3 separate regions of the Homo sapiens genome follow, and all the other regions are linked to region 3. Evidence: promoter capture Hi-C in human tissues and cell types (Jung and others, 2019). All regions are on one chromosome and are shown on one strand. The core of a region is centred on a gene start or on the middle of the fragment in contact, and the rest is flanking DNA. Distances in the headings are between cores, read along the strand shown. Region 1 has its middle 62 kb from the start of TMEM229A. Region 2 has its middle 37 kb from the start of TMEM229A. Region 3 holds the start of TMEM229A (transmembrane protein 229A).

What was found. The method cuts DNA at HindIII sites, captures the fragments that hold promoters and counts their contacts. A contact is called where the count stands out against the background at its distance.
Region 1: a contact is called between a fragment that was not itself captured here and the fragment with the promoter of TMEM229A in region 3, in 4 of the 25 tissues and cell types used here (bladder, dorsolateral prefrontal cortex, hippocampus and 1 more).
Region 2: a contact is called between a fragment that was not itself captured here and the fragment with the promoter of TMEM229A in region 3, in 3 of the 25 tissues and cell types used here (dorsolateral prefrontal cortex, hippocampus and thymus).

The regions. Positions count from the first base shown.
Region 1 is chr7:124,093,586-124,096,528 of GRCh38, forward strand. No RefSeq gene overlaps it. Among named protein-coding and RNA genes, the nearest start is that of TMEM229A, 62 kb to the left of the region's middle. The HindIII fragment of the contact is 4,980 bases long and covers 1-2,943 here.
Region 2 is chr7:124,068,827-124,071,526 of GRCh38, forward strand. No RefSeq gene overlaps it. Among named protein-coding and RNA genes, the nearest start is that of TMEM229A, 37 kb to the left of the region's middle. The HindIII fragment of the contact is 3,265 bases long and covers 1-2,700 here.
Region 3 is chr7:124,031,759-124,034,458 of GRCh38, forward strand. TMEM229A (transmembrane protein 229A) reads right to left here and starts at 1,309. Exons shown (of 1, transcript NM_001136002.2): 1 at 1-1,309. The coding sequence starts at 1,245. The coding sequence ends at 103. The HindIII fragment of the contact is 14,772 bases long and covers 1-2,700 here.

The DNA.
Region 1 (2,943 bases), core at 81-2,580, 62 kb after region 3:
TGTGTCTAAAAAATAAAATACTTTTTTTACATTAATCAGTCCAGTTTGGTCCAAAGACATATTAAAAATATCATTATCCAAGCAGACAAAATTAAATCTTTAAAAACTTCCATAGACTTAAAAACAATAGCTGTTGTCTGCCCTGCTCCCTTTAGTAGTGTCAATTATTACCATACTTTTAGCTTTAATTTTTGGTCCAACTTTGTTTGAAATGCTAACTACTTTATTACTCTCTCACTCACAATTCCAAGTCCACATGATGGTTTTCCAAAGCTTCCAACCTTTGACTACTAATAGAACATCTCACATCTTGCCCACCAGTCCCACAGACAACATGGCTTACACCCCATTAGACAAGACAGAAAAAAAACTCTAGGGCCCAGGCTTGGCAGGGACAATGCCTCACTTAGTAGGAAACAACTAAAAAAAAAATGAGTAACAACCTAGCTCCTCAACCTCCTGTATGATTATGGGCCCTAAATTTCTGTTTCTTTTTTGTTTATTATTATTATTATTATTATACTTTAAGTTATAGGGTACATGTGCACAATGTGCAGGTTAGTTACATATGTATACATGTGCCATGCTGGTGTGTTGCACCCATTAACTCATCATTTAGCATTAGGTATATCTCCTAATGCTATCCCTCCCCACTCCCCTCACCCCACAACAGTCCCCAGAGTGTGATGTTCCCCTTCCTGTGTCCATGTGTTCTCATTGTTCAATTCCCATCTATGAGTGAGAACATGTGGTGTTTGGTTTTTTGTCCTTGCGATAGTTTACTGAGAATGATGATTTCCAATTTCATCCATGTCCCTACAAAGGACATGAACTCATCATTTTTTATGGCTGCATAGTATTCCATGGTGTATATGTACCACATTTTCTTAATCCAGTCTATCATTGTTGGACATTTGGGTTGGTTCCAAGTCTTTGCTATTGTGAATAGTGCCACAATAAACATACGTGTGCATGTGTCTTTATAGCAGCATGATTTATAGTCCTTTGGGTATATACCCAGTAATGGGATGGCTGGGTCAAATGGTATTTCTAGTTCTAGATCCCTGAGGAATCGCCACACTGACTTCCACAATGGTTGAACTAGTTCACAGTCCCACCAACAGTGTAAAAGTGTTCCTATTTCTCCACATCCTCTCCAGCACCTGTTGTTTCCTGACTTTTTAATGATTGCCATTCTAACTGGTGTGAGATGGTATCTCATTGTGGTTTTGATTTGCATTTCTCTGATGGCCAGTGATGATGAGCATTTTTTCATGTGTCTTTTGGCTGCATAAATGCCTTCTTTTGAGAAGTGTCTGTTCATATCCTTTGCCCACTTTTTGATGGGGTTGTTTGTTTTTTTCTTGTAAATTTGTTTGAGTTCATTGTAGATTCTGCATATTAGCCCTTTGTCAGATGAGTAGGTTGAGAAAATTTTCTCCCATTCTGTAGGTTGCCTGTTCACTCTGATGGTAGTTTCTTTTGCTGTGCAGAAGCTCTTTAGTTTAATTAGATCCCATTTGTCAATTTTGGCTTTTGTTGCCATTGCTTTTGGTGTTTTAGACATGAAGTCCTTGCCCATGCTTATGTCCTGAATGGTAATGCCTAGGTTTTCTTCTAGGGTTTTTATGGTTTTAGGTCTAATGTTTAAGTCTTTAATCCATCTTGAATTAATTTTTGTATAAGGTGTAAGGAAGGGATCCAGTTTCAACTTTCTCCATATGGCTAGCCAGTTTTCCCAGCACCATTTATTAAATAGGGAATCCTTTCCCCATTGCTTGTTTTTCTCAGGTTTGTCAAAGATCAGATAGTTGTAGATATGCGGCGTTATTTCTGAGGGCTCTGTTCTGTTCCACTGATCTATATCTCTGTTTTGGTACCAGTACCATGCTGTTTTGGTTACTGTAGCCTTGTAGTATAGTTTGAAGTCAGGTAGCGTGATCCCTCCAGCTTTGTTCTTTTGGCTTAGGATTGACTTGGCGATGCGGGCTCTTTTTTGGTGCCATATGAACTTTAAAGGAGTTTTTTCCAATTCTGTGAAGAAAGTCATTGGTAGCTTGATGGGGATGGCATTGAATCTATAAATTACCTTGGGCAGTATGGCCATTTTCATGATATTGATTCTTCCTACCCATGAGCATGGAATGTTCTTCCATTTGTTTGTATCCTCTTTTATTTCCTTGAGCAGTGGTTTGTAGTTCTCCTTGAAGAGGTCCTTCACATCCCTTGTAAGTTGGATTCCTAGGTATTTTATTCTCTTTGAAGCAATTGTGAATGGGAGTTCACTCAAGATTTGGCTGTTTGTCTGTTATTGGTGTATAAGAATGCTTGTGATTTTTGTACATTGATTTTGTATCCTGAGACTTTGCTGAAGTTGCTTATCAGCTTAAGGAGATTTTGGGCTTAGACGATGGGGTTTTCTAGATATATAATCATGTCGTCTGCAAACAGGGACAATTTGACTTCCTCTTTTCCTAATTGAACACCCTTTATTTCCTTTTCCTGCCTAATTGCCCTGGCCAGAACTTCCAACACTATGTTGAATAGGAGTGGTGAGAGAGGGCATCCCTGTCTTGTGCCAGTTTTCAAAGGGAATGCTTCCAGTTTTTGCCCATTCAGTATGATATTGGCTGTGGGTTTGTCATAGATAGCTCTTATTATTTTAAGAAATGTCCCATCAATACCTAATTTATTGAGAGTTTTTACAATGAAGCGTTGTTGAATTTTGTCAAAGGCCTTTTCTGCATCTATTGAGATAATCATGTGGTTTTTGACTTTGGTTCTGTTTATATGCTGGATTACATTTATTGATTTGCGTATATTGAACCAGCCTTGCATCCCAGGGATGAAGCCCACTTGATCATGGTGGATAAGCTTTTTGATGTGCTGCTGGATTCGGTTTGCCCGTATTTTATTGAGGATTTTTGCATCTATGTTCATCAA
Region 2 (2,700 bases), core at 7-2,506, 37 kb after region 3:
CATTGCCTAGAAGACTGCAAAAGAATCTTGAGAAAATTAATTCAAGCAGAAACAAGTGTAGGTGATAGCTGAAATTTAGAGGCATATTTATATTTGTTTGTGCCTTTGAGAATATTCCTCTTTCTTCTCTCCAGTTGTGTAAGTCCATAAATAACTTTTAAACTTTTTTTCTTAAGCTAGATTTGAATTTGGATCTCTATTGTCAACCAAAGACTGTTAACTAATATACCTCTTTCTGCACCCCACCATCATGAACTTGGGTCATGTGAATTATGAGATAAAAAATAGCCTCCATTAGAAGACTGTAGAGAGAGGGAGATCCTCCAAAGAAAGTCAAATTTTAGTTAAGACAAGAAGCTATAAAGAGCTTGTTTACAATAAAACAGGGTTTTAGAGGCCAGGATTGAAAGTGATGGAAGAGTGGGGAGTGTGAGAAGCAGGGTGACAGCAAAGGAAACACTGAATAGAGAAGAGCTTAAGAATAGGAAGTCATTTTGAAATGATTAAAGGGTTGTCACTATACATTTTATACCTTATAAGTAAGGTATAAAATAACAGTCATTTTTACAACTATATACATAATAAAATTTAGTTCAGATGTTATCAAAAATACCTACTTATGTGAGGTATCTAAAGTAGTCAAATTCATAGAAACAGAAAGTAGAATGATGGTTACCAGGGGCTTGGAGGAGGGAAAAATGGGGAGTTGTTTAATGAGCATAAAATTTCAGTTTTGCAAGATGAGAAAGTTTTGGAGATCTGTTGTTCAACAATGTGAATATTCTTAACACAACTGAAATGTATACCTTAAAATGGTTAAGATGGTAAATTTTGTGTTATGTGTTATTTTAACCTAAATTTAAAAAATTAGTTCAACTAATATAATTTGCATAACACCATGAAGAGTTAAAATGTGGGAATGTATCTAGAATACCAATGAAATGAAGGTACATTTTCAGAACAGGCACAATGTTACTGAATATCCCGGTGTAGATGCGGTTTCTGCCTCAGGAAGGTAAAATCTAAATTGGAGATGGTGACTGATCAAAGGTCAGGAAGGAGTCTGAAGAGAAAATATCACACTTAATAACTACCTTATGCTTTAGTAGAATGATATACAACAGAGAATTTGGGCTCACTTTGGAATTGCAATGAAGGGGAAAGAAAGGAACGATTGAATGGAATAAAAATAAACCAAGCAGCTCCTGTGTGGAGAATGATTACATCTTTAGTGTAATTTTCTCTGTAATGGAGGGGCCTTTAGCAAAACCCAGGAGGAAATTTTAGAGGTGATATGCTGGATGTGAAGGAGTCTGACTGCTAATCTTGCCAAGGGTCTCAGAATGTGTGTATTTTTTGCTGGTATATATTTTTTGAAATAAGCTTCAAGAAATTTCTAGATTGAGCTGGATCCACTCCCAGAAATCAATCTTCCTATTTTACAAATAGAGTTTTACAGATTGTTTCTAACTAACTTTGAGTTTGTTCAAGTTCATCCAACTAATGGATGGCATAGTTAAATCACAAGTCTCTGGATGTTCTTTGTAGTATTTTTCTCAAATGTGAATTTGGCTATCCACCATATTGAATCACTAGAAGGCGTTGTCTGTTCACTTTTCTATCATTATCATCATCGTTACCACAGCAGCGGCAGCAGCAGAAGTAGTATTTTGGTCATTGTTATTAAAAATTGTCAGCAAAAGGTACAGGGGTTATTTTCAAAGCTGTAAGTAGCCTTAGCTGAAACTAGGTAATAATCTCCCTTTCAATGTTCACATTTCCTTCAATTAGAAAAAGACATATTATAAGGAAAATGGTGCTGACAAAAATGAATGTGGAGTATAACTTCAAGAATTTATTCCCCAAATTCTCACAAATATGTGTCCCAATTTTGATTCTTGAAAAATAGGCCACAGTTTACCGCTTCTAAGTGGGTAAGAGTCAAGCTGGGTGATAAAGTAGTCTTTCTAACGTTAATATGCACTTGCTTTTGCTTTTTGTGAGCAGACGCCAAACATTCTGTACCCACCTTTCTGCCCTTTTCCACTTTTTTCTGACCCCTCTACTCTCTCCTCATAAACATCAAAGTTGCTTGAGTTTAGGTTGAAAAAGCAAAACCATTCCAATTTCTTGTGCTGTCTCTGAATTAACCTAATACAGTGACCATATAATTTATCAATTAAATCTGGACATTTTGAGAGAAGTGGAGGCACTATTAAAATTACACTCTAATAACTGGTATAAACAGTGATTGTCCTCGACAAATGGGAATATATGGCTACTCTATACAGTAAGACAAGGTTTAGTCTATCTCCAAGAGCATCTTTTTAGATCTAACCTAATCATCTATAAAAATATGAAACAAAATAATATGATGGTGTTCAGAATTCTGAGAGGTAGACTATTCAATTATTTGGCACTGGACTGTGTGTATTTCAGAGCCAACGTTGCTTCATGAGAACAAGATGAAATTATGATGAAGATGACTAGTTAAGCTTTTTAAGTATTTGTTTCAGATGAACATTTAGATGTTTATTAAGTGTTATTATTTATTGTGCTAGAAATAGGGTAAATAAATTAGGAACATGTTTTAGTATAAATAAACAAGTAATATTTCTGATTCTGGTATAATATTAGAAAACCTGGAAATGATTACTGAAGTTTATGCTTACTATATTTACCTAAAAATCAGCTTATTCA
Region 3 (2,700 bases), core at 59-2,558:
AAAGGACTAAAAAACCCACTTCATTTTAAATGTGTAAAAATAAATCGCATCCATTCGTGGGAATCCAGTGACTTTTTCCTTTTCTTTCTTTCTTTTTTGGTTTTAGTTAGCTGGTACGTACTGCACCCTCCACAACACGTTGGAAATTAGGTCCTGGTACACACTAAGGAATATCCAGCCAGGTAAATACATCAGGGTGATGAGGCCCATAAAATTGAGCGGGTAGTGAGAATAGTCCCAGGAACAAGCCCCGCACGTGCGGAGTCCCAGACCCCAGGACAGCTCCCACACGTAGATGAAGATCACGTAGATGGGCACCCGCTTCCAAGTGCCCCAACCGCGGCTGTAGTGGAGGTGGAAGTAGAGCTTTTCCACCACGAAACTGCAGCTGCCGTACATAAAGAAGGACCAGAGCGACGTGTGGCCGCTGGTTGTCCCGTCCCCCTGCCCCAGTACGTTGAAGAAGAAGGTGAAGAAGATCTCATCCAGAAAGCCGTGCATTCCGAAGAAAAGAAAGCGGGGTAGGTCGGGCAGCCCCTGGCTGGGGGCTCCCCCGGCGCCCCTGGGGCCACGGGGTCGTCGCCGCCGGGCTCCGGCCGCAGTAGGGACCCGGGCGCCGGGAGGGACGGGGAGCGCGCCCCTCCGCTGCTGCTGCTGCTGCTGCTGCTGCTGTTGCTGCTGCCGCCGCCTCTGTCGCCCGTACCGCAAGCGCAGGAAGCGCTTCAGGAACACTTGGCAGTGGTAGAGCGCCAGCACGTACTGCAGCGCCAGGTCCAGCGCCCCTGGCGCCACCGCGACCCCCGCCCCGCCGCCCAGGCTGAGTAGTAGCGCCTGGCCCGCTAGGGTCTGCAGCCCCACGTGGGCCGAGGGGTAGAGGAGGAAATTGAAGACGAAGGCGTTGGGACAGCGCCGCTGCTGCAGGTACACCTTCTCCAGGGCGAAATGGGTGAGCGAGTGCAGCAGGCAGCGGTAGGGCGAGGAGAAGCCTAGCATCCGCAGGTCCGGGCTGCGGGCGAAGCGCCGGGCCGAGGACACCAGCACGTCCAGGGTGATCCCGTGCATCCCGTAGAAGTAGAGGCGCATCCAGGCGGGCAGCGTGGCGCTCTCAGCCGGCGCTTCAGCAGTGGACAGCGGCTCCGGGCAGCCGGCTGCCGCCTCGCTTCCTGGCCCGCCAGGGGCCCCCGGACGCCGCGCCGCGCCGCCCCTCCGTGCGGGGCCCTCGCTGTCCACGTCGCTCCCCGCCATGGGCTCGGAGGCTGTCCGAACGCCCGAGGCTGCACCGCCGCCGCTGCCGGGTGCGCGGAGCTGCAGGGCCGAGCGGCCGAGCCCCGCGCCGCCTCCTGGCCGCTGCCGGCCCCCGGGGGGCGCGCAGGGAGCTCCGTCCCGGCCGCGGTCCCGCGGCAGCGGGGGCTGATGCACTCAGGGGACTCGCGGGCCGCCCGGCTAGCGGAATCCCCCCGCCGTGGCCCCGCTGCGCCCTCCCTTCCAGTCCCGGGCGAGGTGCCGCCCGCCCGCGCCCGCTCTAGCTCTCACCCTGCGCGGCCTAACGGGCACCGCGGCCCAGCCAGGGGAGGCGGCGCCGGGGCTGTGAGGGGAAATGCAGAAGCTTGTGGAAGCCCCATCCCCTCCGCTGCTTAGCCCCGCGCCTCCGCTGCAGGCTCTGGGAACGTAACGCGAGCAGCGGCGGCCCTGCCCCCGCCCTGCCAATGCCCCTCTCCGCCTGCCTCGACCTCTCCCGCCTTCTCAGGCCGCCCCCACGCGCCCGCCCGCCGCACCGAGTCCCACAGGGTCTGCTCGGGAAGGCCCGGCCCTGCTTCTTCCTCCCGGTGCGCCCACTCAACACAGGGGCTCCGGTCGTGCGGGGGGCGCTTGCTGGGCGGAGGCACTGAGTGGAGAAACACCTAACAGGTGTGACTGCAAGTTGATGGGCATTCCCTGCATCGCGGCAATCAGGGCCAGGGCCTGGCTGGCGGAGACGAATGGCTGAGTGCCACGGGCTGGAGGCTGGGCTCAAGACCAAAATATGGTGCTGTATACTTAATGTTCTTATTCAAAGCCAGCTGTGTCCCAGTCATAGAGAATAAACTCGAGACTCCACGCCTGCCCGCCCCTGCGTTACCCTCCATCTAAATTGCTGCCGCGGGGCCTGATCCACTTTTCCAATCTATTTCTTGGCCCATCTACTTTTCTGGGTTTACTCAAGGCCAAGGACAGAGATTCGATGTCCCCCAGAATTTGTGAAATGATTTCAGGCCAGTTGGGTTGGGTTGGGGTGTGGAGAAGAGGAAATGCTTTGTTCTAGCTACTGTGGGGTCTCAGGTGGAGAATAGTACCTCGTCCTGGCACACCCCGCTGCTGGGTTCTTCTTTTGGCAGAACTAGGTCATCCCAGAAATGGAGAGTGACATAAAGGGCCAGGGTTTATCTTTTTCTATCTTTTCCCTCCCTCCCTTCACCTCTCCCCTCTTCTCCCTTCCCTCATTCCCTACTTCCTCCCCTCCCCTCCCCTCCCCTCCAATCCCTCCCTCCCTCTCTCTCTCCCTTCCTCCCTCTTTATCTCCTTCCTTCCTTCCTTCCTTCCTTCCTTCCTTCCTTCCTTCCTTCCTTGGTTGAGAGAGTGGAAGGGGTTCAGAATGTTGGTGTGTTGGTTCCACCATTCTCTCCAATTTTGAATCAGTCTTGGAACTGGAAAGAGCCTCGG